Linked DNA regions of Homo sapiens: regions 1, 2, 3, 4 and 5 are each linked to region 6. Evidence: promoter capture Hi-C in 16 types of primary human blood cells and fetal thymus (Javierre and others, 2016). All regions are on one chromosome and are shown on one strand. Each heading gives the region's core, a stretch centred on a gene start or on the middle of the fragment in contact. The rest is flanking DNA. Distances are from core to core; before and after follow the strand shown. Region 1 overlaps FARS2 (phenylalanyl-tRNA synthetase 2, mitochondrial). Region 2 overlaps FARS2 (phenylalanyl-tRNA synthetase 2, mitochondrial). Region 3 overlaps FARS2 (phenylalanyl-tRNA synthetase 2, mitochondrial). Region 4 overlaps FARS2 (phenylalanyl-tRNA synthetase 2, mitochondrial). Region 5 overlaps LY86-AS1 (LY86 antisense RNA 1). Region 6 holds the start of NRN1 (neuritin 1).

The links. The method cuts DNA at HindIII sites, captures the fragments that hold promoters and counts their contacts. A CHiCAGO score of 5 or more calls a contact.
Region 1: a fragment that was not itself captured here is called in contact with the fragment with the promoter of NRN1 in region 6 in 1 of 17 cell types (naive CD8 T cells); the score reaches 5.3 in naive CD8 T cells.
Region 2: a contact is called between a fragment that was not itself captured here and the fragment with the promoter of NRN1 in region 6, in 3 of 17 cell types (naive B cells, total CD4 T cells and naive CD8 T cells). The highest score is 6.6, in naive B cells.
Region 3: a fragment that was not itself captured here is called in contact with the fragment with the promoter of NRN1 in region 6 in 5 of 17 cell types (fetal thymus, non-activated CD4 T cells, naive CD8 T cells and 2 more); the score reaches 6.8 in fetal thymus.
Region 4: a fragment that was not itself captured here is called in contact with the fragment with the promoter of NRN1 in region 6 in 1 of 17 cell types (naive B cells); the score reaches 5.4 in naive B cells.
Region 5: a contact is called between a fragment that was not itself captured here and the fragment with the promoter of NRN1 in region 6, in 5 of 17 cell types (M1 macrophages, M0 macrophages, M2 macrophages and 2 more). The highest score is 8.2, in M1 macrophages.

Annotation. Positions count from the first base shown.
Region 1 is chr6:5,567,493-5,571,533 of GRCh38, forward strand. The region is part of intron 5 of FARS2 (phenylalanyl-tRNA synthetase 2, mitochondrial); the gene reads left to right. Among named protein-coding and RNA genes, the nearest start is that of FARS2-AS1, 110 kb to the left of the region's middle. The HindIII fragment of the contact is 1,181 bases long and covers 1,210-2,390 here.
Region 2 is chr6:5,509,117-5,513,039 of GRCh38, forward strand. The region is part of intron 4 of FARS2 (phenylalanyl-tRNA synthetase 2, mitochondrial); the gene reads left to right. Among named protein-coding and RNA genes, the nearest start is that of FARS2-AS1, 53 kb to the left of the region's middle. The HindIII fragment of the contact is 8,689 bases long and covers 1-3,923 here.
Region 3 is chr6:5,663,237-5,667,065 of GRCh38, forward strand. All of the region lies in intron 6 of FARS2 (phenylalanyl-tRNA synthetase 2, mitochondrial), which reads left to right. LOC101927950 (a long non-coding RNA gene) reads right to left here. Exons shown (of 4, transcript NR_110842.1): 4 at 1,749-2,222. Among named protein-coding and RNA genes, the nearest start is that of FARS2-AS1, 210 kb to the left of the region's middle. RefSeq lists an enhancer at 1,981-3,180. The HindIII fragment of the contact is 1,404 bases long and covers 912-2,315 here.
Region 4 is chr6:5,527,072-5,530,899 of GRCh38, forward strand. All of the region lies in intron 4 of FARS2 (phenylalanyl-tRNA synthetase 2, mitochondrial), which reads left to right. Among named protein-coding and RNA genes, the nearest start is that of FARS2-AS1, 71 kb to the left of the region's middle. RefSeq lists an enhancer at 2,310-2,919. The HindIII fragment of the contact is 231 bases long and covers 1,459-1,689 here.
Region 5 is chr6:6,506,467-6,510,869 of GRCh38, forward strand. All of the region lies in intron 3 of LY86-AS1 (LY86 antisense RNA 1), which reads right to left. Among named protein-coding and RNA genes, the nearest start is that of LY86, 80 kb to the right of the region's middle. The HindIII fragment of the contact is 892 bases long and covers 1,903-2,794 here.
Region 6 is chr6:6,004,300-6,008,455 of GRCh38, forward strand. It overlaps NRN1 (neuritin 1), which reads right to left and starts at 2,626. Exons shown (of 3, transcript NM_016588.3): 1 at 2,396-2,626. The coding sequence starts at 2,450. RefSeq lists an enhancer at 1-90. The HindIII fragment of the contact is 16,379 bases long and covers 1-4,156 here.

The sequences.
Region 1 (4,041 bases), core at 550-3,049, 440 kb before region 6:
TAGACCATTACTGGCCACAAGGAACTGATATTATTTGATGTGGTTTTTGAGGTTCGTTCTTTGTCTTGCTGTTACTCTTCTAGATACATATCTATTTGTTGAGTATAGCCTGGTGTCATCACCCTAGGTCCTACATGTTAAGATTCCTAAGGTTCAGACAATAGATGGAGGATAAAGAGTTGATTCTAAGAGTCTTTTAAAATTCTGCCCATGTTTATGCATATATACGACATACAGTCAAATCCATCCCCAACATCATCTTTGAGTGTATGATGAGACAGAAGAGATCTGAAATTTAGAGGCCTTGGAATTATTTAGCTAGTCGCTAGCTATTTTCCCCTGGGTCACTCACCTGACTGTTCTGTCACTACATTTTCTCACTGGTAAAATAAGTTCAGATACTCTCAAAGGCCACTCCTTATTCTAGGATGCTATGAAAGTGAGTAGGATTTTCCTATCTCCTCTTCTGTGTACCTCAGATTGCATTGTTACTCCTGACATTCATCTTGACTTAATCTTGCCAGCTTAAAAAAGTTGTTGTGAAAAGAGATGAGTGTTTCTCTGTTGACTTGTGATTATGTGAACAGTGCAGAGTGCAAGCCCTCTCTCTGCTTCTGTCTGGTCTGTCTCTGTCCTTCCCCCTTTCTGTCTGTGTCTCTTGCTGTTTTTCTCTATGTGGCATTTTCTTTCACTCTGTCTCTTGTCACTCTTGTAATATGCGGTTCTGATTCACGTTCAACTGTCAACATAGCAAGGGGGAAATGGTCCCAGGCTGCATAAATCCACAATGGGAGTGATTTCTCTGCTCTTTATTAAGATTTTTGTTGATGTATGTGACATTCAACAGGATTTATCCCAAACACAAGAGCGTTATTAATTATTTATAAAACATTTCTGAGCATCTGCTCTTGTGCCAGGCACCGTGCTTGACCCTGGGGACACAGGAAGTATAGTTTCCTGCCTTCAGATAGCTCCCGCACTAGTGAGGGAGGGGCATTAATATGTATAGGTGCTTGATAAAGGTAGCTAGGCCTGAGGAGTCTGCACTGTGTGGCAGGCAATCAGTCCAGTAATGGGAAGGAGACAGAAGTGTGAGCAAAGTCCTGGAGGCGTGAGACAGCCATAGTCTGTGGTTCAGTGTAGGGTGTTTATAGCAGAGTGTGCTGAGTTAGTGTGGGGAATGTGGGCAGTGGCAAACTTAGCTCGCAAAGCTTAGGCTTTGAATGGTTTCTGTAAGGCAATTAGCAAGACATCCAATTTTGTGATCAGATTTCTATTTTAGACAGATCCCAGTGCGGATAAGATGAGGATAGATTGGGGCCATGAGGCTAGGAGCCCACTCGAGGCCCGGCACAGAAGAAATGATGTGATATCATGTAGGGTAGTAACAGAGAGACTAGAAGGTAGGGTTGGGCTCAGGAAATTTTAGGAGAAAACATTGAAAGATCTTGGATCCTTATGTGAGGCAGAGGCAGAGTGACCCTATGGCTTAACACCTAAATTGGGGTCTGGCTGCCTTTGAGACTTGCAGGGGCACTGTTAATAACTGTGTTGCATGTCTCGGTGCAAACTGGGATTGACCTGGGTAAAGTGGGTGTTTAATCACAGTAGGTAAACATGAGCCAGAAAGAAAATGGTTCCTAGGTTTCTGCCTTGGGAGCTGGGTAGATGAGAAACAGGAGAAAAAACAGGTCTGGAGAAGAAGATGATGAGTTCAATTTTGGCCAGGTGAGTACAGGAGTATAATTTTTTTTTTTTTTTTGAGACAGGTTCTCACTCTGTTGCCCAGGCTGGAGTGCAGTGGCACAGTCATGGCTCTCTGCATCCTTGACCAACTGGGCTCGGTCGATCCTCCCACCTCAGCCTCCTGAGTAGTTGGGACTATAAGCATATGCCCCCATGCCCGGCTAATTTTTGTATAGTTTTTGTGGAGATGGGGTTTCGCCACATTGTCCATGCTGAGCTCAACTGATCCACCCACCTCGGCTTCCCAGAGTGCTGGGATTACAGGCGTGAGCCACCGTATTTGAGCAGGAATATAAAAATGTGAATTTAAACAACTTCATTGTGGTGGTGGTAGTGGTCATTGTCTTTGTTTTGTTTGTTTTAATTGGCATAGTCAAGTCTTCAGCTGAGCAACTGGTCTTAGGTATGGCTGGCCCAAGTGACAACTCAGGCCAAGATAGAAGTGAGAAGTTGGAACAGGGTTGTTTACTGTGGAGGATGAGTCAGAGCTGAGCCCTTTAAGAGAGGATGGTCCAGGGGAGGTGAAGTCAGGGCATATTGTTATGGGGGAGAGGTAGTTGCTGAGCAAGCACTGGCATGGGTTGATGCTTGGGAATGGCTGTCAAGAGGACAGAGTGCAAAGGTCAACAGGTAAGATAAAGGAAAGCTTCCTCCAGAAAAGAGGACTGCATTAACAGGGGTTGGGGAGAGAGGTAGAAGACGGATGTCAGGGTCAGGCATACAGTGTTTCTTCCCTGCCTGCCCAACATGCTGGACTCTTTAAGGATCCTTCAATTCTTGAACCTTGCTTAAGGACAGGTTATGTAAATGCTAGTCATCAGCAAAAGCCAAACTCACATTGTTATTTCTTTTTAATCATAGCTGTATTAAGCTTTTGGAGGTCTGTTCTCCCAAATGTTTCTGTCTGTTAAGCAGAAAATATTTCTTCCTTGACCAAGGACTGAAAAGTGAAAGAAAAAAGATAGAATAAAATGTTCTATCTAGAAAGTGCTATCTAGATTTGAATAGTTGGAACATCTTCCTAAGGTGTTTATTTTGGTGGATATGTGAGGAAATGAGAAGAGACGATGATATTGAAAGTTGACTTGCATTATTTGTTTAAAGTTTTGACAATTTTGAGTATTATGGTGTGCACTTTGCATTCTGGTGCAGTGATAAAAACCACAACATCTTCTCTTTATTTCACTCTTCTGGGCTTAAATTTGCATCTTTAATATTGTATTACCATAATTTTTGCATATTGTAAGGTAATTCAGTTGCCCTCTTCCTGCATGGTTCAGATTTCCAGTTTTGTATGAGTTTCTTATTATTCTCACCCAGTTTCCCAATTAGCACCTTGTTAACTACACACCTGCTGCACAGAAAATTGTATTACGCCATTTAGCCTTTTTAAAGAAAAAAAGAGAGAATGGAAGACACTCTGTTAATAGGTTATTTCAACCTCAAAAAGTGATGCCTCTGGGCACAGAACCACAACATGATTGCTGACGGGGAGAACCTGATTGTTTAATAGATGCTAGAACTGGAACAAGAAAAGCTTTTGGCAGACCTCTGGAAACGGGGGTAATCTGCACTGTCACCACAGCTGTGCACGCATTTCCAGCTTCAAACCACAGAAGCCAAGCCTGATCCGTCAGGTTCTGCACATTTCTTTGTGGAAGAATCACTGAGCCACTTCCATTACTGTGCCACTCTGAAATAATTTCCATTTATCATCTCATCCTGGGATTAGCTTTATTTCCTAGTATAGAAGAAATAAATAGACTTACTGACTGTTTCGTTTTCAAATTTTTCGTGAAGACTTGGTAACTTTTCACTCAAACGGTTATTCATTTATTATACTTACTTCCACATCGTGCATCTATTAAAGGCAAATATGCAGCCGTTAGTATGTAAATGGAACTTGCATGCTGAACAAATGAGGTAGAACCTCAAACGTTATTTATTGACTAATTAGTGTTATTGTAATCAGAGGAGAGCCTATAGAAATGTGTAAAACTATGCACGATGGGCCTACACGAATATAAGCAGATGTCAATTTCATTTTGGTCTAGCTTAATTCATGCGTCTTCTGTGACATACGGGTGTAATACCTTCATTTCAAATTGATTTAGATGCTTACTTAACTATTAAATGATAATAGCTAATTTAGTGGAAAAGATTATTAAATCATATAAAAAAGAAAGCCTCACCAACGCACGTGGAGAATCCTACTTACTGAAGCATGGGAGGTTGAAAAGAAGGCACAACTAGGACCTTCATTAGGATTCTTCAAGTTGGCCTTTCCAGAGATGG
Region 2 (3,923 bases), core at 534-3,033, 500 kb before region 6:
AAGGGATGAAAAAACATTTTCAACCTTAGAGAATAGACGTAGACATTAGGTAAAAGCTGTTAACCTTGTAGCCAAGATTTCATTTCACCCAATCAGAATTGCTGAGAACACTGTCTTCCTGAGATACTAAACTTCCAGCTTTGCCCAGGTTCTCCTGCCCAGCATTCCTTGGCGTGGAGCTCGAGGGTGACACTGGGTTTGCGTATGCAGATAAGAGAAAGGGAACAAGTTACAAGGTTTGATTAAAGCAGCGGCCCCTCCGTCTGGTGAATGGCTCCTAGTTTACACCACGTAGCTGATGAAAATGTCACAAAGAAATCTCGTGAGCACACTGGGGAAGTGAGTTGTTCCTGGTAGGACACAGTTGGTCCTGGTTTTTACAATTCCAGTGCAGCTCGGCAGACAAGGGGCAGACTCGATGGGCATAGTGCAGGAAAATGGGTTCTTAAGGGTAAGGCGAGAGGTCCCAGCTACTTGTGAGTGGCTTACTTTTCCAAGGAGTCGATAATGATGGAGAAAAGGATGTCCAGAGGGTGGTCCATCTAGCTTGGCGCCAGAGCGGGAGAGCTGTGGAAGCTCAGCAGGAAAGACTGAGCGTGGGGACTGTGGTCTCTGCAGAAAGTGGGTGGTTTCTTTATGGGGATACCTGCTGGAGTGTGCTGGTTTTTAAAAAACAGGTTACTGGGAAGAGCATTATCCACAACACAACATCTATATATACCAACACATAGCATATGCACACTCCTCTACATGTTTATATATACACATCGTTTCTGGTTTATTTTCCTCTTACTCAAAATACATTATGTCGCCCAATTTTGTTTTCTCATTTAATGTGGAGCTCTTTATGGTGGTGTTAACTGTAATTTTAGCTCTACATTTTGTGAGGCCCGCCAGTGTTGGGCTGGGGATTAAGGAGAGTGTCATCTGGATAGATGGCAAGAAGGCAGCACCGCTAGATTTTTATAGGACAACCAAAGGCTGGGGTTTGGAGGGGTTTTTTGTTTGTTTGTTTGGTTGGTTGGTTGGTTTTTGCTCCCTTTTCTATTTAAACAAAGATTTTGCCTCATTTCAAATTTTTTTTTAGTTCAGTGATTCTGTGGATATCTGCAGAGTGAAACGTTACATTATTTTTCCTCAGGGGTGGCAGATGAGTTAGTCGACCCCTTAGGGAAGACTCTGCCTGGGTCGACCCCTTAGGGGAGATGCTGCCTGGTCCCTTCGCCCTCTCCCTGCAGGGTGCCATCCTGGCCTGCCTCCTTCCAGGCAACCCCAACAGAACTGCGGAGCTGAAGCAGCCTCTCCCCTTCAGACCTCAGAGAGCATTTGTCTGACCGTGAGTTCCGCCGCAGCCTGGCCTGTCTTTCGCCCTAGTTAGTCTTTAAGCTCCTGAATGCCCGCCGCACGCCCAGGGCTTTGCACACGGTGGGCACACGGTGCCTTTTGAGCGCGGGAGAGGGTTGTGAGCTGTTTGTGTGCGGAGCCTGTGTCTCACTCATCTTTGCAGCCCCTGGACCTGCTAGAGAGCTAGCACACTCACCAGCGCTGGCCGCGTGAGAAGCGAGTACGTGAGTGCTGACACAGTGATGAGCTTGACCCCATATGTAGTAGAACGGGTTCCCAGCCTTGTGTCTGAGCCCCACCCACCCCCCTCTTGTCCTCTTGTCCTTTTGGGGATTCACTGTCAGAGGAGATGACCTCAGGAAGTTAATGAGCCAATGAGAGATGAGCTGGTATTTATTAATGGCAGGCCGATGCCTAGGAGTGCCTGTCTGTGCTGGGCTTTACCGGTATGCAGAGATGCAGCCCCCCAGTGGGCTTGATGTGAGATCTCCTCCTCTCCCTCCCTCAGCAGGGCTTGCGGGGATCCTGAGGATCAGAGCCTGAGTTGTCTCCCATGCTTGAGCTCAGAGGGGACTGAGCTTCCCTTCTCTCTCAAGACACAGGAGGGAGAAGGAGAGGCCAGATGGCACAAGTGTCCCACACTTTCACCCCAGATTGGTCCAACGTTTAGTCAAACCAGCACATGAATGGTAGAGGGACAGAAGTAAGAACAAGAAAGAATGATAGATGCCAAGATGAAGATTTTGTACATGAGAAGGTATTTAAGGGATCTTGCAATTTTCCTGCAGGAGAAAAAGAGAAAATGAGGAGAAGGAAAGCATTTGTGCTGTAAGAACTAACCTATAAATTATACTTAAATAACTTCCTCAATAAGCATAAATCATGCAGTTACATAAAATCATATTGATTTCATTATGTTCGTATTAATACATTTTAATTTTTAGGTGCACATGCCTGAAGGCACAAGGCTCTTAAACACATAATAATCAAAAAGCTAATTAATCACAAATGGGCAAGTTTCCCAAATAATTCCAGGAATAGGTACAATTAAGAAATAATACCCTGCGCACAAAGTAGAATAAAAACACACAAGCAGACAAGAAACTTCATTACAAGCCATAAAAACCAAAGAGAAAAACAGAAGAGTCTCATTTCCTAAGCCAGGTAATGCCTAAGCCAGGTAATGTATTAGGAGGGCTATTGGAGGAAAAGGGTCATTTCGTAGACCTGTGGCCCTAACCATGCCTTTTCTCTGTTTTCCTCATTAAACTGGTGAATCTTGACTCATGCCTCTGTTATATTAATGATTTCTTCTAGCTTTGAGGGATCTAGAAGTCTCATAAGCACCCCTTTTATTTCTCTGAGTGGCTGCTGAGAACCCTAAATAGAACAGGGACAGGTTCAGGAGTCTGTTAGAGGATACAAGAAACCTCTTTCCATGTGTACACATTCATTAATCAGAACTTTTCACATATAAAGGTTCAACAAGTTTCAGATCCATCTAAATAAACAGTTGAGTCCTCTTTTCTCTTTTGTGAGTATATTCTAGGGACTTCAGCCAAGTGCTTTGCTATAATCAGAATATGCTTTATTTATGGCATTTTTTGGCTTACCCGCCCAGTAAATGCAACCACAAGAGATGATAAGAATGGGATGTTAGTCAGCACTCTTTTAGTTCCAAGAGTCAGAAACCCAACTAAAGCAAAAAAAGGAAATTCAATTGCTCACATAATAGGAGGCCCGGGGGGTGGGCTTGCTTCTGATTCAGCTGAATTCAGGCCACACAGCTAATTAGAGGGAGAGCCAGTTCTGGAATTGACTTCAGGTCCTCCGACTCCCAGGGCAATGCTCTTTCCATTACCTGGTGCTACCTCTATGCTACCTCAATCAATAGCAGCCAAATTAAAAACAAAATGAAACAAGAAGGGCATGTCTTCTCCTTGGGGTCACTAATAATTTATTCTGATTTTACCTCTCAAGACTTGCATTGTTCATGTTCCTGAAGGAAATTAGCAAAGGCTTTTGGGTGTCTTTATGAAGGAGAAATCATTGCTTTCTACCTACTTGTATTCCACTTTGTGTCCTAAGCTAAGGTAGATGGTTTGCCCGTCAATTATTTGTCCATCCATTTAGTCTGAAAACATTACTCAGCATTTCCTAGGTTACAGATGCTGTGCCAGGCACCCGAGATTCAAATGTGATAAAGACATTGATAATTTGGTGACAAAGGACAATTCAAGCAGAAGGCCTAGTAAATGTAAAAACACAAACACTTTCATGCATTCATTCTTTTCAGCAAAAAATATGTATTAAGCACAAAGTAGGTGACAGGAACTGTGTGTGCTAGGTGTCATTAGTAGGCATAAAAAAAGGAGAACATAGGTTGGGGACTGCAAATAGTTCATTATGGCAGAAGCACAGGTCTCACATGGGAGAATATGGGAGTGAGGGAAAAATGTAGACTGATGTCCAGTCATCAGACACACTGGGGACCCTGGATAGGTTTGACGCAAGAAAGTGTCCTTGTCTGATTTTCATCCTAGACACTCCAATTGCAGATGCGTGGGTTGGGTTGGAGA
Region 3 (3,829 bases), core at 364-2,863, 340 kb before region 6:
CTGGCTACTGAATGGCTCTTCAATGTAGGGAGTATCTTAGCCAGCTTGGCACAAATAAAACCTCTTTCCTTTTCAGCTGTTTTAAACATTTAGCAGTCAGATCAGATGATTGAACTTTCAAAAAAATTCTTCCCAATATCTGTTTGGATGGAATCATTTGCCGTAAAGATCTGGCATTATTCAAAGCTGCTCTGTGCTCCCTTAATTGAAAAGCCCTGACATTGACATTGGACAGGGCTTGCCTTTGGGGCCACCAGCAGACAGCTTTCTTCAGTGCCTCGTATTGTTAATGACTCAGAGAATGTGTTTCGATGAGATCAGAAGCAATCCACTAAAGAAAAAGTGGAGAGGACTTGAGAGCTTAAAAGAGCGGAGAGGAGAGATGTGAGAAAACCTAAAAAAAGACAAAAGTTGGTGTGGAAGAAGGGGTGGCGCGGGCTCCATGGCAGATTTGTCATTCGTCCCAGTCCAGCTATTTAGAATCATTTTTCCAGTGGGAAGAGAGATGAAGAGAAATCCTGTCCAAAAGAACAAGGAAGATGTCTTTGAAATGATATGAGGGGAGCCAGAGACAGACATGGAGGTGAGCAGGACCAGGTCTTGCTCCTTAGATCTCCAGGGAAGATGTACTCAGCACTACTGTGCGCACCTGGGCTGCACTGGTGTCTTTACTGCAGGCAGAAAGGATGGATGCACGCTGGCCAGGGCCATGGACTGCAGGTGCTTAAGTGGCCCCACAGTAGATGGCTGTGTTCACAGCTCAGATCTGTGGCCCCCCTGGCCTCCTCAGCCCCTCTGAACAGTATCCCACTGTTAGCAGCTCTGCAGTGAAAGTGCAATCTGAACACAAATTAAGTGGCAGCTTTGGGGTTTTAAAGAAAAAGGAAAACTTTTTCATTTTAGAAACAGAAAGCTTAATGTCTCCTGTGTCAGTTCATTCTATGCTCCCTGAAATGGTTTCATCTCTATGCTAATTTTATGCTGAAAATAGGAACTCCCCTGTGCTGGAGAGGAGAGAAAGGGCTTGGAAGTCAAAGACTATCCAAGTGGCTGAGAATCAAGTGGACCCCCTTGACTCATTTCCACTTAGAAAATGCTTTCAAGGCAGCCAGTGTTACACCGAGGGTCCTGCCAGGGGAGCCGAGGCCTTTGCCTGTCACCCTGGGAGCTGGCTTCCAGGCCTTGGGCATGGATCCCTCGCCCAGAGTCTGCTTGGTCTTGCACCAATGATTTCACAGGTTATATCCAGACCTCATGCTTGATAATAAGGTAGTAAGCTGACTTCCCTTGGTTTCCTCCACTTCTGTTTTAAATGAATAATTAATCCATTAAAAGCATCATCTCAAAAGCACAAAATATCCTATAATCTATGACTATAAGTTCTTAGAATAAGAAGTGGACATTGTGTTATGCTTACTTGTAGACTGGTCTGTCTCTCTTAGTAGGACATGAGATGTTGAGGATGGATCTCATCCTAGTCCTAGTCCTTAAGAGCACCAACATGGACGCTTCCTCAGCGTAGGCATATAACTGTGATCTCTGAAGATTCCTATGGGTCTATCATTCAGTAGCTCAAGGGCAGCTGGACGGAGAAGAGATTAGAAGTCTTGTTCCTGCTTCTTAACTTGTTCACAAAGATACTTCATTTTTATTATTTTGGTCCTGCCAGTTCTCTTCATCTGGTTTCCTGTATCCTTTCATATACAGTGATGCTGAGGCATTTTTTCATTTGTTTGTTTTATTTGTTGTTTTAAAGAGAAAAGGGAGTATACTTGTTGCTTCAGGGCAAAACAAAGACCAGTGGGAAGAAAGTTATCAAAGGTTGATTTCAGCTCCTCACAAAGAGCTTTCTAAGGACAGGCTATTTGTGAAGGGACTAAATGTGTTTAAGTAGAGCTGGGCGGTCACATGAGACCATTGTCCTGAGGAAGCTCACCCAAAAACCCCGATGGCCAGGATGTTGACTGATGGCTCACCCTGGAGAGTTGACATCTGGAGCCTCCGCTGACAAGCAGCATGGTCCGCTGGCAGGTGAATAGGGGCCATGGTTCTGCGGGCTCTCTCCAGGGGTGGCTGAGGCTGGCACTCCACAGTGCTGCTAAGCACATGGGTCACAGCTGCAAGAATGCTGGGGTATGCTGACTAGGCAGGTGTGCGGAGGTCACGATGCAGCTCCATCTTCAAAACAGGAAGCATTTCTCGGAGCTGTAGTCTCACAGACTCTAGAGAGATTTGAGAGGAGACTGTCAGAGAGACACAGAGGCCTGGGTGTGTGTGGATGAGGTGATTTCTAACCGGTTGATAATAAGGTAGTAAGCTTTATGTTTCTATCATATTTATTTCCCCCCTCAGATCAGGTTGTCTGAGCCAGAACCACATATCCCAGAGCAGGCATGTTAGTGATCTGGGATAGAGAGAAGGACGTTCTAAACAATGTCTGGAAACATAAGGGGCTGAGATGCATTTAGCCATTTGAAAAGATAATGGAAATTTCTTTCAACTAATTCCTTTGAGGTTTAACTGTATAGTATTGCCTTTTTCATCCTTTCACAAAACAGACCCTGGAAGGACTCAAATTGGTAAGTGAGAAGCCAGTTACTACCAACTACTGGGCAGCTTCTTGGCAGGAGGTGAGAGCTTTCTGCTTCCTTTTTAGGACAATTCCACCCTTCCTTGAGTGGGAGGAGTTGGTGAGGTGGCTGAATGTCATGAGGGTTTGGAGAGGAGGTGGCTGTAATCGCACAGGCACTGGCATTGAAGAGACCCCGGGAAGGGAAGTACCTCTGGCTCCATGGCAGGATCTGGAGGGAGGAAGGGAAGATTCATAGCATAGCAGGTCTAGCGTACCGCACTTGAAAAGACTATGGTATTTATTGGTTCATTGAACTCAACTAAACCCAAAATACTGGGTACCTCATGTGTGCAGTTCTTAGTGCCAGGAATGATGGGCTGTGTAAGGAAGAATCCAGTAACTCCCTCAACTAACTTAGAATATTTATTTCCTAACTAAAAGAAACATAAGTAAGAGTCAACAATATTGTTTGTTTTGCTTTTTATGTAGTGTCAGGCACAGAAATATGCTCAGTAAACACTTGCTGGTTAATGGCCACTGCAGGTCCCTGAATTTGCGTTGAGTTGAAAGAAATGCCACCAACCTGCCCCTCCACTGCCAGGAGTTCAAGTCAGGAGAGCAGCCAGCCTGACTATAGAAGAACTACACAGTGCCTAAAGTTCCAGGAAACCTTCCAGTTGCAAGGAGAGAGAGCAGTGCTATTTTAATAAATAGTACATGATAGTTTTGCTGTATACCAGGCCTACACAGTGCTAGACACTGGAGGCAAAGACAGACAAACAGACAAAATAATTAAAATGTGGTTAAGATCATATCCAAATGTAAATTAGGTCCACCACTGTGGAAAACAGTGTGGCAGTTCCTCAAAGACCTAAAAACAGAACTAACATTTGACCCAGCAATCCCATTGCTGGATATACACCCAAAGGAATATAAATTGTTCTATTATAAAGACACATGCACATGTGTATTCGTTGCTATTCAAAATAGCAAAGACATGGAATCAACCTAAAGGATCATCAATGGTAGACGAGATAAAGAAAATGTGGTACATATGCACCGTGGAATACTATGCAACCATACAAAAGAATGCGATCATGTCCTTTGCAGAAACATGGACAGAGCTGGAGGACATTATCCTTAGCAAACTAACACAGGAAGAGAAAACCGAATATTGAATGTTCTCACGTACAAGTGGGAGCTAAATGTTGCAAACACATGGACACATACTGGGGCCTATCGGAGGGTGGAGGGTGG
Region 4 (3,828 bases), core at 324-2,823, 480 kb before region 6:
AGTATTATATAGATATACATAAAAGTTATTCAACTGCTATATCCACTGTTTTTTTCTTTCTGTCAACTCTTCGGTTATATTCTCACCAGTCAGCAATGTGCTGGGCCAGTGCTTCTCCCAAGCTGGAACTGACCCTGTAAGTCTATTTTGTGAGTGGAATCACAGCAATAAAGTCTCATGGCATTTGTCAGAGGGACTGCGTTGACCCTGCCGTCCAACGGCATATCTCCTACAGTCATAGTGTCTCCATAATTTTGGCTCAGAGGATTTATTCAATTTCCTTTCCCTTCTGCTCTATTCTTTCCGAAAGACTTATTTTTACTGTAGTGAACTCACTAAACTCTAGTTAGCTTTCTACTTGTGGCCTAGTTTTGATAACTCTTGTTAATAAGGAATTTAATAATACAGTTGAAGTAAATGAAAATATTTCCCAACACTCACAACTCTGTACAATGTTTCAACAGTGTTTCCTCAAACTCCTCTTATGGATATGACTCACATTATAAAAACTGATATATGAAGAATGCACATTAAGTTGAAAGTGATTATTTGAATAATGATCATTTTAATGCACTTAAAATATCACTCAGATTTTTAAAGTCTTGCCTATAAATTTGGGGGAATATATTGTTCCCTGAAGCTCTGTATGCAATTCAATTCAAGCAACTAAAAACAAACCACAACAAACAATCAAACAAAAACAACTTCTATCTGAAAAATGGAAATTGTTCAAGACTGGTAAACTGTTAGGAAATGTATCTTTTGCTGAATGAAAACTGTTTGTTGCAATGATCTGCTTAACAATACTTAATTCTGAGTTCCAGGAACTTAGATTGAAATTTGAGGGAAAAGGATGAAAGACATAATGCTGTACTGGGGGCTAGTCAAAGGGAGATGTAGGAGGTGGTATGTGAGTCCTTGGTAGATCATATGCAAGTCAGTATATTTAGCCTTTAACTATTAATAAATGCTAAGCAAGGCATAACTATTCCCTTTACGTTTTCAAAAGGTTCTGCAATACCCTATCCCAATTTGGTCAATTCATCTTCATTTCACATTTCTATCTTCGTATGTTTGTGTTTACTTTTCCTTCTTGTTGGAAGATCTTTACCTTTTTTAAAATTTGTATTTAAAAAAAAAAGAGATGGAGGTTTCACTCTGTTGCCAAGGTTGGATTTGAACTCCTGGGCTCAAGTAATCCTCCCCCTTTAGCCTCCTGAGTAGCTGGGACTACAGGTACATATATGTCATTGTGCCTAGTTCACCTTGAAAACCCCTACATGTCATTTAAGACCATACTTGACTGACTTTTCCAAAACATCCATGTTCAGGATGTTTAAAGTGACCTCTTCTTCTTCTGTCACCCCATAGAACCTAATTTCTAACACTCATGGCACTGATTTGCATATGTATTTATAGGTCTTTCTCTCTCTGCTTTCAAAGTAAACATCCCTTGAAAGCTTGAACTATGGAGTTACGCATACCTGGGTTCACATCCCAGATCGAGCACTTGCTTGCTGTTGGTTGACTGACTCAGTGGCAGTCCTAGCACCACTTGTCCTTACATACATCCACTCCAGAGTTTGGAAAAGCCAGGCACTTATGCTCTTCACATCCTTTAAATCTAAGGGTGGTCAAGCAAACCAGTTTGGAGCAATGAAATGTAAGACAGTTGGGGACCCTTGGGAAAGCTTGTGTTTCCCTATAAAAGCAACAGGTATGTAAGTCATGCACACTGGAACTGTTCCTGCTTTCCTCCTGACTGATACGTGGTGACTGGAGATCGACCAGCCATTTTGTAGTTATGAAATTACCATAATAATAATGGAAGCTGACCTGCTAAGGATGTTGGAGCAGAAAGATAAAAAGAGCAAGGGTCTTCAGTGGCATCCTCTTGCTCCTGTACCAAATCTGGAAATGCCTATCTTCAGAATCCTTTTTATGGAAATTAAATGTCTCTTATTTAGATCACTTTTAATAGAGTTTTCTATTGCTTGCAGCCAAAATTATTTCTAGATAGCTGTATAATCTAGGACAAATTAAACTCTCTAAACTTTAGTTTTCTTATCTATAAAATGGAGCTAGTGATAGTGACCTAACAGAGTTGATGTGGTAATTAATGAGGTCATATTTTCTGACTCGTGATGAGCAAGTCAATGTTTCTTTCTCCTTCCTTTATATGGTATTGTTTGCCAGAAAGCATCTATCACATTTTTTGTACAAAAACAAGTCACAGTAACTTTTTTTTCTTTTTTGAGACAGAGTCTCACTCTGTCGCCTGGCTGCAGTGCAGTGGCACAATCTCGGCGCACTGCAACCTCCGCCTCCTGGGTTCAATCGATTCTCCTACCTCAGCCTCCCGAGTAGCTGGGGCTACAGGCGCCTGCCACCACACCCAGCTAATTTTTGTATTTTTAGTAGAGACGGGGTTTTACCATGTTGGCCAGGATGGTCTCAATCTCTTGACCTCGTGATCCACCTGCCTCAGCCTCTCAAAGTGCTGGGATTACAGGTGTCAGCCGCTGTGCCCAGCCTAAGTCACAGTAATTATCATTTGAATGAGTAAATGAATATTAGAGTAAAGCAGCTGAACAGACTTTGCAAGATAAGCCACTCTAATGGCTTCTCACAGCCTTTTTAATGGCTGAGTAGACAGTCTTTCTCTGCCTCTTGAATCTGACTTGGCTCTGTTACTTGCTTTGGCCCATCAGGGGAGTAGCAAACATGATGAAAACAGATGCATGAAAGGTGATTGCACCCTGGGGCTTGCTCTCTTGATGCAATTAGAACCCTGCAACCACCACATAAATAAGCCCAAGCTAGCTGGTTGGATGATGTAAGAGAACCAAACTGCCCCAGCCAGCAGGCAGCCAACACCAGACATGTGAGTTCCGGCAGGCCACATATGCATGAGTAAACCCAGCTGAGAGCTGAAGAACTTTCCACCTAAGTCCAAAGGGCCAGCCAACTTTGAGCTAAGTGAATAGTTGTTGTTTTAAACCACTAAGTTTTGGGGTGGTTGGTTTTACAGCAAAAAATAAATGATCTAGAGGAGCTCTGAAGTGAATAAGTAAGCATCGGGGTCTCCAGATGTGTCACCTGGAGAAGGACATCATAGCACTTTTGTAGTGTTACAGCTGGGGTCCAGAACCTGAATCCAATCATGAAGAAATATCAGGTAACCTCACATTGAGGAACATTTCTATAAAACAAGCGGCCAGGATTCTCCAAAATGTCAATGTCTTATAAGATAAAGGAAAGCTAGGGAATGGTCCTAGATTAATAAAGACTAAAGAGACATGATATGTAAGTACAATATGTGATCCTCAACTGGATCCTTAATGGGAGGGAAAAAATGCTACAAGGACATGATTGGCAAAAATGTCAAAATTTGAATATGGATTGCAGATAAGGTGGGGTTATTGCATCCATGTGAAATATCCTGAATTTGATAACTGTACTATGGATATATAAGAGAATATCTTTGTTCTTGGGAAGTATACACAGAAGTATTCAGTGGTAAAGGAGCATGATGTATGTAACCTACTCTCAGATGACTTAAATTATTGTAATATTTAAAAATATATTTATATATTTATATTTATAAATATAAAATATATATAACAATAACAATATCTATATAGCTATATATTTGTATTAATATCAAATATATAACTATATATTTATATATAAATATTTCATATATTGTATAATATAGAACTATATATTGACAAATATATCAATATATAAATGGAGATATATTTATAAATATATCAATAGATATATATTTATACTTATATATCAATGGATATATAGTTACAATCTATG
Region 5 (4,403 bases), core at 1,099-3,598, 500 kb after region 6:
CCTAAGTAACTGTGGCTATTTTTTATGAAGGTAAATGCTATGAATAGTAGCCATGACAGTGCAGAGATAGAGGCAAATTAAGAAAAACTGTAACGAAAATGTGAACTTTTGAAGGCAGGTGCAGAAACTATCAAGAAAAGTAGATAGAAGTATTTGGAAAGGAAAGGAGGTTCTTTTTTTACTGATGGCATCTATAATAGGCCTTGAATTTCAAGTTTATTTTTCCAGGTTCACTCAGAGAAGCTAGAAATGATTCAACAATTATGCTTACAGGAATCTGTCCTTCAGAAATAATACAAGTGTGTAGAGTTATTTTAAAAGATTATATTACAACACTGTTTATAGTAGCAAAAAATTGGAAGCAAACTATTAGATTGGTGCAAAAGTAATTGCTGTTTTTTGCTATTGACAGTAATGGCAAAACCGCAATTACTTTTGCATCAACCTAATAATTAGTTAAATGTAGTTTACATAACAAAACATTGTACACCTAAAGTTAATAATATGAGCTTAAGTTCGTAGAAGGTCAAAGGGTATAAGCATCTTGCATGTTAAAAGGCATTGCTACATTGCACTGTGTAAAGGTTGTACCAAATTACATTTCCACCAACAGTATATGAAAGAACCTATGTCTGTACATTCTAACCAATGCAGCATGTATTACTAATGTTACAGGTTAAAAATAGGTAAGTAAATTATGCATCATTATCATTCTAATTACTATTTCCTTTATTATAAATACAGTTGAACACCATTTTGTTTCATTTGAGAACAATCATTTATATTTTCTTTACTATAAGTTACCCCTTCAGGGACATTTGCAGTGGCTCACGTCTGTAATTCTAACACTTTGGGAGGGCAAGGCAGGAGGATCTCTTGAGCCCAGGAGGTCAAGACCAGCCTGGGCAACATGGTGGAACCCTGTGAAAGGAAGAAGAAACAAAGAGAGAAAGAGAGAAAGACAGAAAGAAAGACAGACAGACAGAAAGAAAGAAAGAAAGAAAGAAAGAAAGAAAGAAAGAAAGAAAGAAAGAAAGAAAAAGAGAAGGAGAGAGAAAGGAAGGAAGGAAGGAAGGAAGGAAGGAAGGGAGGGAGGGAGGGAAAGAAAGGAAAAGAAATAAATTATCCTTTCTTTTTTTTTTATTTTCCTGTTGGGTTTTGGTCTTCATATAAATATATATGCTTATATATGTGAAATTGGCCCTTTTTCCTTTTGTGTTTTCACTTTGTTTAAAATTTTTTGCAATGCTATTGTTTTGTCAAAAATGTTATCAACTTTTAATGGTTTTATTATTAGAAAATATTTATCTATTTAAACTTTCTGAATCTTATATGCTTTTATAATACTTTTAATTCCCATTTTGAACACCTAAATTGTAGCCAATCTGTAGATTTCTGTGTATATAATATGTATGATGGAAATTCAGTCTTTTACCAGATAATTATAAAGATGATCCAAAAGCGTTAACTCGGTACTCCCTATTTTCTTTCACTGTATTAAAATTCCATCTATATCACCTACTAAATTAGTAATATGTATTGCTTCTGAACTTTTTGTTTCATTTATTGGTTTTCCTAGACATGCACCAATACCACATTGTTTTAATTCTGGTAGCTTTAAAATATGTTTTGATATCAAACAAAGATAGTACTCTTTCATTGTTTTTCTTTTTTAAAATATTCCTGGTCATTCTTATACACTTTTTCACAAGATGTTTACAATCTATTTAACTGGTTAAAAGGCTGTTGGAATTGCATTACATTTATGAATTGACTGGAGAACTTTACGAAGTTGAGTTATTCTACCCATGAAAATACCACAGTTTTTTCCAGTAGAATTCTTTATTGAATGAAGGGGGAAAAATCCATCTCTGTGCCAGGGACGTCGGAATCCTAATGCAAAGCTTTATCTACAGGCCCATTCATTTGATTGACACAAAACCTAGCCTTGGCTTAGTTATTTGTTTCTAATTTTGTAGAGAAAGATATTCAATAGCAAATAAGGCTTCTCTGAATGTTCCATTTTCACATGAAGGGCAGAACCAAGACTAAAGGAGTCATTCCCAAGTGGAATGCCTTCTATTTAACAATGCATTGATCTCTGACATTTACGCAACCCAAAACACAGTTTAGTTTTGTTTCCTCATCCCAAACACTACATGATGCCTCACTCAATGAGAAAATATCTAAAATTATCTCATTTGAAAACGCTTAAGAAAATAAGCATTATTGATAAACATTTGCTAATTAACTTTGAAAGATGTCAAGTTTCTTTGCCTGTTGATGGTCTTGGAAATTTCATTATTAAATATTTTCATTATGTAATGGTCACATTAGTTGACAATTTAGTTGCGTAATTTTAGTGGATTGTCATCAACTTCCTATGTAAAGAAGATCACCCACTGACTATTGACTGATTTTTCTAAGTTGAGTTGAGAATAAAAGAAGGAAACTACCATATCCTCACAGGAGTGAGGAAGCTCACTCAGTGCTAGTCAAATAAAATGTTACTGCTGAAGTGCAGCCTGTTAGCTCTGGACTCATTACTCTGAATGATCTCTGAATCCCATTCAGGGTCATTCTTCCCTTGTCTTGAAGAATAGTGTGTATTTTCAGCCAAATATCTCTATGGTCCAGTCCTGTAGTTATCTAAGAAGTCTGATGGCCTTTCTTTATTTCATTCTAGCTCTGTCTCCTTCAGTTCAAATTGTCGATGTTTCTGCTGGGGTGTCTAGGTGCCTGCATCACACCGATACTAATCTCCTTCCCAAATTGTTGTTCAGGCTTCAGAACAAGCTTTCTCTTCAGAACAAGCTTTTTATATTTTGCATTATGGATAGGCTAAAAATTTTCCAAACTTTTAAGTTCTGCTTCCTTTTGCTTAACATTTCCTTCTTAAATTCACTTCTCTCTTATTGCATTTTACCGTAAGCAGTCAGGAGGAACCAAGCCATTTCTTCAAACACTTTGCTTGGAAATCTCCTCAGCTAAAACTCCAATTTCATCACTCACAAGTTCTACCCCCCTTCACAAAACACTAGAAGACAGTTCAGTCCGTTCTTTGCCACATTATGACAGAGATCATCTTTCCTGCAGCTTCCAACAACATGTTCCTCATCTCCTTGTGAGACCTCACCGGAATGGACTTTAGGTTCATATTTCCACCAACATTCAGTTAATGATTTATGCGTACCCTAAGAAGTTTACTATCTCTTTATCTTCGTAGATTTTTCATACGCACTTCAAAAAGTTTGTTGTTAGATAAAGTGTCTTATAAAAGGCAATTAGCTCGAATCAGTTGATAGTGTTAATCAAGTCTTCCCAGTCTTTGCTGATTTCCTAATTTTTCTATCCATTATTGAGATTGATATATCTGACTGTAACTATAGATTTATCTATTTTTCCTTTCAGTTCTATCACGTATTTTGAAATTTTATTTTGGGGTACATAAATGTTCAGGGTTGTCATGTCCTCTTGAGTAATTGACCCCTTTTTATGAAATATCCCTCTTTATCGCTAATATTATTTTGTTCTGAAATCCACTTTGTCTGACATTCATATTGCCAATACAGTTTCTTTTTATTAACATAATGTATCTCTTTCTGTCCTTTTGCTTTTAACCTATTTGTGTTTTTACATTTAAAATGTGTTTATTGAAGGAAGCATATAGTTAGTTCTTGTGTTTTTATTCATCTGACCATCTCTGCCTTCTAATTGCAGTGTTTAGATCAGTTATATTTAATGTGATTACTGGTAGGGTTAAATTTAAGTCTGTCATCTTGCTATTTCTTTTCTATTTGTCACATCTGTACTTTTATTCCTTTTTCCTTTTCATTTTTTAGAATTCCATTTTATTTCCTTTGTTGCCTTATGAGCTATAACTGTTATTTTAGGTATAATGTGTATTTGTACATTTTTAACTTGATATGTACCATAATTACACAGCATACGTAATTAAATAAAATAATATACTATATATAATTATATATTTTAGATACTATAAAACATAAAATTATATTCTCTATATAATTATGCATTAGATAGTATAAAATACATAATTACATGGTATGTAGTATATAATAAGTAATATTATATTGCCAAGAACCATGAGGATCTGATATTTTACCATTCTTGTGAGCTAATGAGTTAGCGTGCTACAGTTTTAGAGATGCTCATAAAAGATATGACTTCTGGATCAGAAATGAAAAACAGTTTATTAATCATAGCAATAGCAGTAGCCAAAATATGAGCATTTTTTGTCAGTTCTCTGAGATCTAATTCACACATGTACATCCATCCCATCCAAAGAGCACCAGATGCCACCTGCACATGCAGAGAGTTGAAGCTGCAAAACATGAGTGCTTTATTATGAGCAGTGTGTAGGCTCTTTATTCCAGGCAAAT
Region 6 (4,156 bases), core at 1,376-3,875:
AGCTCGTTCAAAATGGAAATACACTCCACACATCTTCCTCTATAACGCATGTCACAAATACAGCTTTGCAGAGAAGAAACGAAATAAAATAAAGTCCAATCTCCCCGTCCACGTCTCTCCCCACCCCTTGCCTACACCCCCAAAACTCAGTGGCGAAAGAAGCCCCTAAAATGCATTGACATTTTTTAAGGGGAATTGGGGCTCGCCGGGGGCGGGAGCGCTCTTGTCACGTTATCTTCCCAGGCGCTGCTGGAGAAGACCCTGCACACCGCGCATGTGTGAGTGTGTGCTGTGTAAAATAAGTCGTGAACATTTCTGTCTTTTAAAACTGTGACTCCTTGGACTCTAGCCTTCTCTGGGAGGCCGGGAGGCTGCGCGCGGGACGGATTTTGCAGGCGCACGCGTCCCAGCAGGTCGCAGCCCGTGGGTCCCTCGCTGTCCTTCCTGAACCCCGCTTAGGCGAGACTCTAGCGGGTGACCCTGGCTCCTTCCCTGTCCTCTCTGCCGTCCCCTTCTTGTGCGGTTTCCATCCGTTCATTCATTCGTTCGACCTCTCATTCATTCCGAACTTCCTCCTGCTGCGTCTTCTTTCGTGTTCACCACACTCTTCTACCTCCCCGCCCCTCCCAACCCCCACTTTTCTTGCCAAATGTCAATGATTTGGGACAGCTCCCAGCCGTGAATTAATAAAGACCGAGGTTCTGTTGCAGGAAAGGGCAGACATTAGGGAACAAATACGTTCAATTTCAATTCCACAGTCAACAAATAGTCATTTTTGGACCGAGGTTAATGTGTTCAAAACGCGTCCCTCAGGCACGACCACCGTCTTTTTTTTCCCTCCAAACCTCTCAAAGTAAGGTTATTTCCTACCGGGAAAACAGAGTCCCAAATCTTGTCCGATTAAAATTTCTATCTCAAAAACAACTCTCTCTCCTGCTCTCTAAAAATTCAAAGGTTTATTGCAAAATGCCACATTCACTTATTTCCAACATTTAAGGAATTTGCTGCCATTAGAAATATTATTTACAGCAGCTCTTTTCACTAATGTCAAAGATTCAAAACAACCAGATTTAAAGCATTGTCATTTTTTGGAACTAAAGGAAAACACCAATATCCTGCACTCACACACTCTAAAATCTTTATAATGTTTCTGCATTATAAAATCTCAAAATCATGTCAGTTGCATAAAACCCCACTGCAAAGAATCCATTTTAAGGTCTAGAGAACTCCAAACCTTGTTTCCTTCACATTTCTTATGGAAAAAACATATTATGCATTCTCCTTTCTTGCCCCAAACCAATTACCTAAAGCACCCCCTCCCCCAATACTGCAAGGATTTGTCTGCAAAGAATGCCACAGCCTGAACTGATAGGAGGTAACAATTCCGTTTCAGGAGTTTCTTTTTTCCCCCGTGTTGTCCATTCTATTAATAACCTGCTTCACTTTCACTTTTAGGCCACGTTAATTAATGTTCTGACCCAGTGTCGGAGAAGGGGGTTTTCTAGTGCCCTCTTCTATATCTTTTCTTCATTCTGGATGGTAAAAATGTGAACTTTAAAAAGACCCCTGACAGCGTAACTACAACTCAACATTCCTTAACATAAAATGGGGACTAAATAATTCCTTCCATAACCAATCCCAAACAAACAAAAATAACAAACACCCGACATGACATATTCCAAACACTTCTTAACCCTTTCCTATATATAAAATGCAGACACCAATGTGTAAAGTAGCAGGCAAATGCATCTAGAAAAGTATATCTACGTAAATTTGGCTGAATTCATCCTCTTCAATGGTAAGCATGTTAAAATATGTGGTCTGAAGTTCCCTATCACTCTCGATTTGCCCACCAGCCGGGTCTGCGGTGCCCGTGCAAACGCTGCAGCTAGGATATAGGGGGGAGGAGGGGCGGGAGAATGACAAAGTTCTAAATGCAGCAGTCTGAGCCCTGGAATATCTTTGCTTTCAGCACATAAACTTTCCAGTCCTGGCTGCCTAGCCATTTTATTCCTGCATTCACATTTCGACTCTTCAAAATCATATCTTGCAGTATCGCAGGGGCCAGTACATTGCCCCAGAGCGCACCAAACCTGGTATAAACCCAGAAAGGGAAACAAAAATGGATGTGTGCTCAGGAAAAAGGGGGAAAAAAACCGTGTCCAGAAAATGTCCGGCCGCACACATTTCCTGGCGAACATTTGGAATCTATAGCTTTAGGAAAAACCGATCTGGGACGCGCTAGTCCCCAGGAACTGATGCCCCCACCCTCGGGGGATTGCCGGCTTCTCCGCACCCTGGGGCGGCCGCGGACCCGCTAGTCCCCCTCCGCGCCTCGGGCCGGGGCAGGCTGCCTCCCGCCTCCAGCCTCCAGCCGGGCTGAGCGGCCACTTACCTATTTGCACCGCGAGGATCAGTGAAATATATCTGCCGTTCAACTTAAGTCCCATCCTACGTTTAGTCAAACCATTTGCGACCGCAGACCTTTAAATAGTTAGTTTAGAGAACGCGGGGGAAAGCCAAAAAATAGGCATTGCCAACAAGTTCCGGGAGCGACAGAGACTTTATGCACTGGGAAGGCAGAGGGAGGAGAGAAAGAGAGGGAGCGAGGAAGAGACAGAAAGAGAGAGAGAGAGAGAAAGAGAGAGAGAGAGAGAGGCTGAGGGGGGGGGGAGAGCTGGGAATGGTTCACTCCATTAGAAGGGGGCGGAGGAAGTACAGCCTCACGCCCACGAGCAGGCCTGACGTGGGGGATGACACGGAATGATTTTTTTTTTAATATAGACACCTTGGTAGAGAATCGCCATTTATAGTCATCAGAAGCTGGAATTAATCAGATATCTCCAATTAATGTGCGATCTGAACGAAATTTTGCCTCCCGGGGGTGAGCACTTTCCTATTCTAGCGGTCACCCCTGCCTCTTCCTCGTTCCGGGGGCCCCCCAGCCCCGCCGCCTCCCTGCGCAGAACAGGGGCTCCCCCTCCCTTCCCCGCCAGGAGCTGGGGAGTCCTGGCGCGCCCACTCGATTGTTTCAACCTGCTCCCCCTCCTCCATCAGCACCACAGAGAATCCAGCCCGCTCTCTACGATGCAGGGGGGTTTAAAGGAGCGGGAGAGGGAAAAACAGCTAAGCTAGCTCGATTAATTCGAAAGCGCTCCTCGGCCGCCCGCCCCCTGCGCTTGCCTACCCTCTTTTTCTCCAACCCAGCAGCTGAGCTCTGGGCGCAGCCTGGAGCGCGTGAGCACGCAGCCCGGCCCCCCGCACGAGCACACACACACACACACACACACACACACACAAACGCGCGCGCGCACGCCCGCCAGCCGCGCCGAGCGCCCCCATGCCCGCCCGCACACAAGGCACGCGAGCGCGCGCACACGCCCAGGCCCCGGGGGTTTGGTTTGCACACGTGGGGCCCCAGAAATAAACACCGAATGTCCTCTGAATTTTACCCACCTGCGATGCCCCAGCGGGCCAAAGGCCGCTTCAAGGGACACAGCGACACCTGTTTTAGGGGGCGAGTAGGGCACCGGGGAAGGAGCCTCTGATAAGACAGTTTTCGGATACTAGTGATTTACCAACCAACTCTCAGCGCTTTAGGAAATTTCCAAGGCAAGCGCTGGTGTGCGGACTTCTTTCTAATCTTGATGCGCCTCTTGGGCTTATTTGTTGGGCTACACACACACGTACCCACACGCACACACGTACATCACGTACGCACACGCACACCCGGACCCACACACACCTGCACTGTCTTTTGATGCTCAGGCACAGACCCTGTGTAGGTGTAGCCTACCCTGCAACAAAATACTTCTGCAGCTGGCTTTGTGCTAGGTGCAAGCTGCTATCGACGACAGCTTGAGTCAAAACCGAAAAACTAACAGGGCTATTTCCTTTCTAAACGCCTTTAAGCTCTGGTTTTCTTCCTTTCTTCTGCACCAAACAGAAAAAAAAAAAGTCTAAATTGTAGCGTCTTTAATAAAATGCTAAAGAAGGCATTGGCCAGCTTTAATCCTTAAGCCTGTGGAGAGAAAAAAATGAAAACGACCCCCCAAATTTTGCCAAACTACACTAGAGGACGTCAAGCTGTCAAACTGTAGAAATGCACACGGATTAAGGAGAAGCGTTGAATTTGCTTCTACAGGCAGCTTGCCCT